2 separate regions of the Homo sapiens genome follow, and region 1 is linked to region 2. Evidence: promoter capture Hi-C in 16 types of primary human blood cells and fetal thymus (Javierre and others, 2016). All regions are on one chromosome and are shown on one strand. Each heading gives the region's core, a stretch centred on a gene start or on the middle of the fragment in contact. The rest is flanking DNA. Distances are from core to core; before and after follow the strand shown. Region 1 holds the start of UGT1A4 (UDP glucuronosyltransferase family 1 member A4). Region 2 has its middle 6.7 kb from the start of ARL4C.

The links. The method cuts DNA at HindIII sites, captures the fragments that hold promoters and counts their contacts. A CHiCAGO score of 5 or more calls a contact.
Region 1: the fragment with the promoter of UGT1A4 here is called in contact with a fragment that was not itself captured in region 2 in 1 of 17 cell types (naive CD4 T cells); the score reaches 5.5 in naive CD4 T cells.

What each region holds. Positions count from the first base shown.
Region 1 is chr2:233,715,350-233,720,547 of GRCh38, reverse strand. It overlaps UGT1A4 (UDP glucuronosyltransferase family 1 member A4), which reads right to left and starts at 1,812. Exons shown (of 5, transcript NM_007120.3): 1 at 861-1,812. The coding sequence starts at 1,727. All of the region lies in intron 1 of UGT1A8 (UDP glucuronosyltransferase family 1 member A8), which reads right to left. All of the region lies in intron 1 of UGT1A10 (UDP glucuronosyltransferase family 1 member A10), which reads right to left. All of the region lies in intron 1 of UGT1A9 (UDP glucuronosyltransferase family 1 member A9), which reads right to left. It also overlaps UGT1A7, UGT1A6, UGT1A5 and UGT1A. The HindIII fragment of the contact is 5,069 bases long and covers 1-3,888 here.
Region 2 is chr2:234,501,456-234,506,137 of GRCh38, reverse strand. No RefSeq gene overlaps it. Among named protein-coding and RNA genes, the nearest start is that of ARL4C, 6.7 kb to the right of the region's middle. The HindIII fragment of the contact is 1,495 bases long and covers 949-2,443 here.

The DNA.
Region 1 (5,198 bases), core at 563-3,062, 790 kb after region 2:
TTGGAGTGGGATAGGGTGAGTTTGGTGATATGATCAGCTTCACCTGAGAAACACTTCCCTTCTTGGACACATGTCCATTCATCACTGGTCCCAGCTTCACTGGGCTTATAGATTCACGGTCTTATCTCCTCCCTAGTCCCTTCCACCCACTCTTGATAATTTCAGCATTCCAAGTAGAAGACCCTTTTGACATGCAACCATCACCATACCTTCCAAACTCTACGATGTCCCCACATCATACACCAGACCCCCAACTCCTGGTCAGAAAAACTTTTCTCAGGACAGATCCCTCTCTGGAAACTGAACTCCATGTTTCATTCTCTGATCACATGCATCCATCCCACCTTCACAGCCCCACTTCCACTCAACTGAGTCAACCTCTTTGACACTTCTACTTCCTGTGAGTGCCTAGGTCTCCTGTGGTCACCTCTGTATCTTTCGCAAGATGGGACCACTAAAAATTATCATGTCCACAATTCTAATTTACTGTTGCATCACCGTTCAGCTGAAAATCAGGCAAGCAAAAACCCCAGGATGGATCAGTTCTGAATGTAGTGTCCCTGATCCTGCCGAGCTGAAGGACATGCACAACCATGAAGATGGTGCCTTTACAAACACTGTCCGTGAGTCACAGCAGTCCTTGTCCATCCTCTGACAGACCCTCATCCGTGCCTCTTCTTCCTCTCAGTGACCACTGAAAACTTGAAATACACTAGGCCCCTCAACAGTTTATCTGTTATAAAGAAGCCAAAATAAAATCTTTGGAAAGATAAGTAGATATGGAAGCACTTGTAAGTAAATACATTTTTTAAAAAGTGTTTTGCCTGGAACATTGATTGGATGAAGGCACCAATACAGACCTGAGATAGTGGCTTCCCGTTGGCACAGTTGATGCCCCCAATGAAGACCATGTTGGGCATGATCGGCCTGGGGTAGTCCATCACAAAGTCCCCTCGGAACAGCCACACGGATGCATAGCTGACAAGATCCACCACTGACACCTCTCTCTGAAAAAGCTCAGAGGCAAGACTTGCATAAGGGGCAGAAAAAGTATGGCAAATGTAGGACAGGGCCAGAGGGTAGAGCATGTTCTTGACCCTTTGCAGGAATGTCATGTGGTCTGAATTGGTCGTTAGTAACTTAGGAATATAGGAGGAAGGATTTGGACACTGTGTGCCCTTAAAGTCTAAGTCACATGGAATGTACCTCCAAAAAAACACAGCAGGAATCGACAGGTACTTAGCCAGCACCGCCCCACAGAGGTTAACGGGGTCTGTTAAAACCACATCAAAGGAAGTAGCATTCAGGTGCCTGATCAGGGCCTCATTATGCAGTAGCTCCACACAACACCTATGAAGGGCCAAAGATACATTGTTCATAATTGCCATACTTCTAGAATATCTCTTCAGAAGATGTTCTGTTTCAAAGAACCCTTGAGTGTAGCCCAGCGTAACGCGATCAAATTCCTTCTGGGTCCATGGAACAGCATAGGCTGTCAGGGTGAAAAATTTCTCTTCTTTGATGTGCATATTCACCTCTGGGGTGAGGACCACCGCCTGGTGGCCTCTGGCATGGAGCTCCCGCAAGGCCTCCCGCATGCTGAGCCAGGGGCTGCCATCAGTGGGCACCACCAACACCTTTCCACTCTCAGCCCAGGGCTGGACACTGAGGAGGAGCAGCAGTCCTGTGGCCAGCCGCGGCAGGGGAACCTGGAGTCCTCTGGCCATCTCAGCAGAAGCCACCGACAGCTGACTGTCCACCCCACGCTGTGCCTGCTACATTTGTTTCCTTCGCCTTAATTACCTTGTCATTGAGCCACCTAGCAAATCAGCATGTAATTGGAAGACAAAGTGCCCTCCTCCAGTTACTTATTACCCATTAATCTATAACTGCCTTTCGTTATGGGCCCAACCCTGGGAAAGACCAATCACGCCTATCTTGAAAAGCTCATCTGACCCTGTGCTGCCTCTGGGGAACATCCAAGTTCAAGCTCTTCTTTCTCATTCAATTCCCAACACAAGGCTGTGGACACCCATTTCATGTCACTGCCTTCTACTCTGTTAACCATATTTATCAGGCTGCAGCTGAGGTCTGAGGAGTCACCATTGCCCTAGTCCCCAACCACATGTTCTCTGCTGAATGTGACGCTATTTGCTAACCCTTGAAACTCTTTCTTCTCATATGTGAATAACACAGCACATCCAAAAGACATACAACATTGCTAAGCCAGCTTTCTCTAAACAGAGAGTGTTCAGGCTGGCTATCTGGTTTTGGTCTTTTTTCACACCAGGATATTTCTTGTAAAGCTCAAAGAGGACTCTCTCTGAAGTGGCTGTCAATATAAAAAAAAGCTCCGGGGAGGCTGAGCTCAAGATGTGATGATCATATTCTTGGGAAGGCTTTATTGAGGATTCTCCATCTACACCATGGAATAAGAGGTGCTGCTGTCTAAAGCACACATGGGCAAGACAACCCTAGCAAGGACCCACGGTGGGTTCAGGGAGCTCCTGCTCACCAAAGGACCTGGGGAGCTGGAGCCTGGCCTCAGATCTTGCACAGTCTGAATTCCTCTTCTGAATGCCAAAGGCTCCAGTCTTCTGCAAGTCTGCATAGAGACTGAAGTATCCATTCATCCAGGCCTTTATTTCATCCTGAAGATTATGGCCAGGCTTTTCTCCAAGTCAATCCAGCACCAAGTTCTGATAAGAATGGTTCCTCCAGAACAGAACGGGCTGCATAATTTGTGGGGGCACTACTTCAAATTTCAAAATGGAGAATTAAATGTGTGCCTTTCTAGGGGGAGACCCTGAGCACTCACAATGGTCTCATGCCCATGAGGCTCGTCCTGCTCCAGAAAGTCACTCCTACATGTGCTCGCAAGATTGCTGATGCTTCCTTGTCCTGGTCGCCCCAGGATGAGGTGGGCAGGCTCTCTGGGCTGTGCCCACTTTCCATCTCACTACCTCTGTGTCTACATGCCTGGCCATGTCTGCCATTGCTGGTGAGGCTGAGGCTTCCCTTATGGAGGAAGTTACTCCCATTAGAAATCCACATTGATAACAGATTCCACCTTTGGACACAACCCATGGGACAGGCAGTGAATGGATGCGTCCATCAGAGGGACACCCAGCTCAAGGGAGGCATATGCAGGATGGCACAGAGAGGGCAGGTCTGTAAGGGCTTGAGAACTCCCCAGGGGAGGACGATTTCTGGGGATTTGTGAGGACACAGAGTGCTAGAAAGGGATTCTCAGCTGTGGGTGCAACATCTCAGCTTCTCAACTATTCCTCCAACCCCCTTAAAACTGTCTGCATCTTAAGAACCCTCCTGATGAGCCCGGGGTGAGGGTGGAACATGCCTGGGAGGGTGCTCTTGCCACATTCAAGGGGCTCCCATGTTCTATTTCCATGTAGTGGTGTTCTATTTCCATGTAGTGGTGTTTTATTTAGATAGTGATGTCATCTGATTTCTGGTTACGTGTCTGGCACTCCTAGACCCTGCGGAGGCCCATGTATCTTGGAAGATGGTGGTGCCTTCAGAGACATAGGGGCCCTGAGGACAGCAGGACTGTGGGGAGGGAGAAGCTCACATTCCTGGTGCCTGGGAAATAGGAGGAGCTGCCCAAGGCATCAGCTTCCAGGGTCTGGAGATGAGGAGGGGTCTGGGCTGCACAGATAGACTTGGAGCCATCAGCATATGTGGTAGCTGAAGCCATGGGTGTCAGTGAGGTCACCCCAGCAACGTCCAGAGACAGAAAAAGGCATCCCGAAAGCCTGACCTGAGTGATCTAGCTCCCCTCTCCCAATCTCACAGAGCTAAACATATAAACTGGAACTCTTTAGTGTTTTTAAGAGAATGTAGAAACTATATCTTGGGGTAAACAAAGCTTCCTTAGGGTACAAAAAGTACAAACGATAAAAACTTCACTAGAATAAACCTCATCAAATTCTAAAATTTTTGCTCTTTGAAAGTATTGTTTTTAAAAAATGAAAAAAGGAATATAAGGAGAGAAAGGAGATAATTGAATGGTAAGCTGAGAGCTCTGAAGCCTGGAGAATAGAAGACTACGGAGGACAGAAACAAAAATTAAATTTAAATGGCCAAATGAAGGAAAACCTCCAAGTTTTGAATAAGATGTGGGTTTCACTTTAAGCTTAGTGTCTGTGGTAGGCAGAATCACAGCCCCACAAAGTATCTACATTGTAGTTGCGCAAACCTGGGAATATATTCCATTACAGGTGGAAGAGACTTTATAGATGTGATTATATTAAGGGTTTTGACATGGGGAGATTATGCTGGATGTCCGGGCAGGACAATGTAATCACAAGGGCTCTTGCAAGTGAAAGAGACAGATGTAAGAATTAGAGACTTGAAGATGCTGCACTGCATCTCCATGGAAATGGAAAAGGGCCATGGAATTCCAAAACTAAGATGGAAAAACTAAATTTCTGTTAAAGGAATGAGCTTACACTCAGTGGAAAGAATACAACTAAGAATGGACAGAATCAGAATGCTGACATCAAAAGAAACTATCAGATTAAAGTCATTTTGGGTTTTGTTGTGTTTTAAATCAATCAATCAGTCAATCAGTCAGTCAGTCAACAAACCACAAGAGCTGAAACTCCTGAGCTCAATGATCCTCCCACCTGAGCCTCCCAAGTAGCTGGGGCCACAGGCACAAGCTACTGCACCCAGCTTTTCATATTGGAGTTTTAAAAAAATGTTTTCTAACTTTAAAACAAGATTTTCACATTCCAAATAAATTTTTATTTTTTTGAGATGGGTCCTCGCTCTGTCACTCAGGCTGGAGTGAGGTGGCGTGAACATGGCACACTGCAGCCTCCACCTCCTGGGATCAAGTGATCCTCCTGCCTCAGCCTCCCGAGTAGCTGGGACCACAGGTGTGCACCATCACACCTGGATAATTTTTTAATTTTTTGTAGAGATGGAGTCTCAGCATGTTGCCCAGGCTGCTCTCAGACTCCTGGGCTCAAGCAATCCTCCTCCCTCGGTCTCCCAAAGGGCTGAAATTACAGGTGTGAGCTACCCACTTGCACACAAATCATTTTCAAATTAAAAGAGATGGGGAATTCAAAAAATAACATAGGAGTCACATTACTGATATCAGATAAAATGTATTTTAAGGATTATTATTTAATGATAACAGCAAACTGTGAAGAAAATATAAGTCTCAAACC
Region 2 (4,682 bases), core at 447-2,946:
ATGTCAGTTCCTGGCTTGTATGAACAACTTTCTAGGGAAGCTTCCTGCTGGCACCAACTCTGTGTCCCTACAGTGACATGTGAATTTAAGCCTGTTTTTTTTAATGTGATGGTTAATACTGAGTATCAGCTTGATTGGATTGAAGGATGCAAAGTATTAATCCTGGGTGTTTCTGTGAGAGTGTTGCCAAAGGAGATTAACATTTGAGTCGGTGGGCTGGGAAAGGCAGACCTACCCTTAATCTGGGTGAGCACCATCTAATCAGCTGCCATCGAGGCTAGAATATAAAGCAGGCAGAAAAATGTGAAAAGACTGGGCTGGCCTACCCTCCCACCGTCCCAGCCTACATCTTTCTCCCATGCTGGATGTATCCTGCCCTTGAACATCAGACTCCAAGTTTTTCAGTTTTGGGACTTGGACTGGCTCTCCTTGCTCCTCAGCTTGCAGGCGGCCTATTGTGGGATCTTGTGATCATGTGAGTTAATACTTAGTAAACTCCTCTCCCTCTCTCTCTCTCTCTATATATATATGTCTATATATATACACACACATAGATGTCTATATCTCGATATCTCTATATATGTGTATGTGTGTGTGTATATATATATGTGTATATATATATATGTGTATATATATATGTGTATATATATATGTGTATATATATATATGTGTATATATATATATGTGTATATATATATATATATATATATATATATCTCCCTGTAGAGAACCCTGACTAATACATTGCATCATCATTCTGCCCAGAATCTAGACCCAATTTTTATATTTGACCTTTTTTTGGCAAGGAAAAAACTGGGATTGTTTTTATTTTAACTATTTTCCCCACCTAGCGCTAGATAAAATCATAACAAAGACATGGTCCATGAACAGTAGGCTGGAATTTAAGAAATACTAGACCAATAAGCCAGAATTCAAGACAGGTAAGCTTCTTCTGTGACAAAAATCAAATTTATTCTCATTTCTTTGCTTTTGCTTTTCTTTATTTTTTCTTTTCGGTCTAAGCCATTATAGGCTGGAAAACTGCTGGCTTTGCTTTCTGGAGTTATCGTGTTTTAGTTTGCCTTTTTTCTCCCGTCTAAGCCAGTCCAACAAAATGGGACGAACTAGGGCTGCATGGCCAGCAGCTATAGCTACAGTCACAGGCAATGGGAAGGCTGGTTCCAGATGGCTAGGCAGATGTCAGGGTGCCTGCCTAGGATGGAGCAGAAGACCTGTCTTCTGGATGGTGAGTGCTCAGTGCACGGCTGAAGTTCCCAGGGGCTGGCTCCCTAGGGATGTACCTGGAGCTTCTATCTGCAGGGTAATTGCAGAGCCCAGCTGCTCTTGGGAGCAGGTCTGTCTGGGCTCAGGGTCTGGGCAAGGCTGGGCTGCAGGATGAAGATATTCATAACTACAGCAGCAAAGGTCTAGTAGCTTCTTACTTTCTCAATAAGGCTTGTAGTTTCTCTCTGGAGTCCTTCACCTTGGTGTGGCATGGATATATTTTGGCTCTGCTAGACTCCCCATGACCACATTAACTAACAATATGGCCCTCCCTTTGCCTCCTTTGCTTAGGATTCTGGAGATGCCTAAGTGCATTCTAAGGTATGGCTCTGTGAAAAAGAATAATTAATTACTGGAGGAAACACAAAACATTAATGAATGCAGTCACCTTTAAGGAGAGGAGTTATGGTGGGGGCAAGGGTGAGGGGGTGAGGGAGGGTGGTGTTCCTTATGAATGTTATACCATGTGAATGTTTTACCTAATTAAAAAATACTAAAAAGTTATCAACTCAGTCATTTCTTAGTTCTCTTAAATGTCAGTTTCTCTGGAGAGAAAAATTTGCTCTGCAGTATGCAAATAAAGGGCTAGATACTCCACAAAAATTGTGATACTTTTGACCAGAATAAAAATATGAAAAATAAGTAAAAGTGGGATGATGAGAAGGAGGAGGAAATAAACTCTCCGCTTTTATTTTTTGTTGTCTGAAGTGTCCTTTCATCCTATCTTGGCACCTTTTTATTTGGGTCTCTTCTCTCCTTAGGGTTTTCTCGTTGTAGCCTAGAGGTCACGTCTTCATGTTCCATATTGGATGCCAAAGAGTTTAGTGGAATTTCCTTCTGGGTTATGTGAGAGGTTGAGTGTTGGGTTTATCACTTCCCTATATGGACCAGGTGGTATTACTTTATCAAGCTGGGCAAACACTGATGGACATCCTCCTCCATCTGTTTCTAGAACTCTGCAGTAAATGCTAGATTGAAGCAAGCAGCTTAGGCTGAGGATATAAACCAGCTGTGCCTTCTCTACTCCTGAACATAAGGTGGCCAATCCCACAGAGCTTACCCGCCCCTGACAGGCAGAGAAGGGGACACTAAGCCTGCCCTTAGAAGCACATCCCTTCATTGAGCACTCATCAAAATGGTACCAATGAAGTATTAAGCTTGGGCCAATCAGATTGTAAGTAAGCTTGGGCCAACCCTCCTCCCTGGTACCCAAGCAGACTGGATAGAGGCCCTTGCTAGTGAACTTGATGAAGTTTGCTCTTTTCCACATGCAAAAATGGAAGTAAATACTGCATTTATTGAGGACGTAAAGGCAACTGTCATGAAGAAAAAACAATAAATGTGGTTTAAAAGTGCTCACAATTTTAATTCCAAGAGCCATTTCCAAAGTAAAATCATCTGGACATTGGTTGACTGGATGCAGAGGGTAAGCAGAGGGAGGGGAAAGACAATGAGTTTGTCTATCATCTTGTGCTGGTTGATGTGTTTGCTGGATAATCTCTTTCTGTCTGTTTATTGATCTATCATCTATCTATATCATCTATCATTTATCTATCAATCTGTCGTCTATCAATCATCTATCTATCTATCTGTCATCTATCTATTTATCATCTATCATCTACCTATCTACAGAGTGACAGAGAAAGAGAGCATGCTCTGAGTCCAATAGTCCATGTTGTTCTCTTCTGGCTTTTGACAGTGACAGAGATTGAGAAATCATGAGAGCTAGATGGAATTAGATGCTGAGAGAAAGAAAACATCACAGACCCAACACTGACGACCAACACAGTCTGTGGCTGATGACTAAATAATGAGAAGACTCACACAAAAAGTAGTATTAGTGATCAGGGAGACAGAGAGAGCACAGCTTTGTAAGACGCACGTTTGGAGGTCCTGGTGGATGGTGTGCCTGTAACCCATGAGCATCTCCATCCCAAACAGCCATCCGCACAGATCAGCCCTTTGGATTTTTCCATAGGTCATCAATGACCTTAGGAGAGCAGCTGCAGGAGACTGGGAGAGGCAGAAGCAAGAGAGTAAAAGGGATTTTCTGTGATTGATGGAGCAAAGCATCAGGTTACATGAGCACTGTGTGACTCATAAGGAAGAAATGATCATCTCAAGTGGCTATCACTCCAACAGAAGCAGCAACGGGCCAAGGAGCTCTGTTCAGATGCTGTGCTGTATCCACACAGAGGATGGTTCTACAAAAGCCAACTGTTGTATTAAAGGGAAGAGTCATCCTGAGTGACCACACATTAGAGAGGGTGGCACTGGCAACACACCCCATCCTCCCTGCTGCACTGTAGAAAGCCAATAGGGTTTGACAGGGGCACAAAAGCGTGATTGTTTTCATCTCTCTGGGGTCCAGCCAAGTAAGCTTAATTAAATGAAAATAATAGCATTTCAGTTCACCTGCAGAGGTGGGAGAAGAGGAATGAAAGTAATCCAAGTTTCCATCAAATACTTCTTGGTTCATGGTGCAGCTCTCTAATCACCTGATATTTATTGTTAACTTGTTTTTTTTTTCCTTCACTGTAGCTATTAGAGTAGAAATTTAATTACTGTGATTGAATTATTAAAGGATTCAGAAATACCTTTTGCATACTAAGCCTTTTCTTCCCCCTGAACTGGAAGCTGGCACTAAGAACTTTTCTGTCACTTTGGTATGCCTGAGTGCTGACTTCCAAAGCTTTGAGTCTTAACATCCTTGACAAAGGTTCATTTAATACATGCCATGTAAATATTAGGGAGAGATGTAAAATAGTGTTATATAAGAATTATATTTGAAAATATTACTGATAGGAAAGATAATGGCTTCTATTTATTATTATTATTTTTTGAGATGGAGTTTCGCTTTTGTTGCCCAGGCTGGAGTGCAGTGGCGCGATCTTGGCTCACTGCAACCTCTGCCTCCCAGGTTCAAGCCATTCTCCTGCCTCAGCCTCAAGAATAGCTAGGATGACAGATGCCTGTCACCATACTCGGCTAATTTTTATATTTTTAGTACAGATGGGGTTTCACCATGTTGGTCAGGCTGGTCTCAAACTCCTGACCTCAGATGACCCTCCCACCTTAGCCTTCCAAAGTGCTGAGATTACAGATGTGAGCCACCATGCCCAGCCCAGATAATGGCTTCTAAAATTTTATATCTATCTCAGGAATGTAATAGAGATCGACAATTATTAAGGAAGACTTGAAGCGGGGGAGCCTTTTAGCTTTTTGATTTAAATTTTTTTTCTTGGAGAAAACAGCAACAACAACAACCATACAAAACACTAGCAGTGGTGATCATTGGGAAAATAAAAACCTGAATTGTTTCAGCCCTGTTGCTTAGCAAAATAAAAAATAAGGCACCCTGATTTTTTTTTCCTTAGAATTATAAACTTGAATGGCCA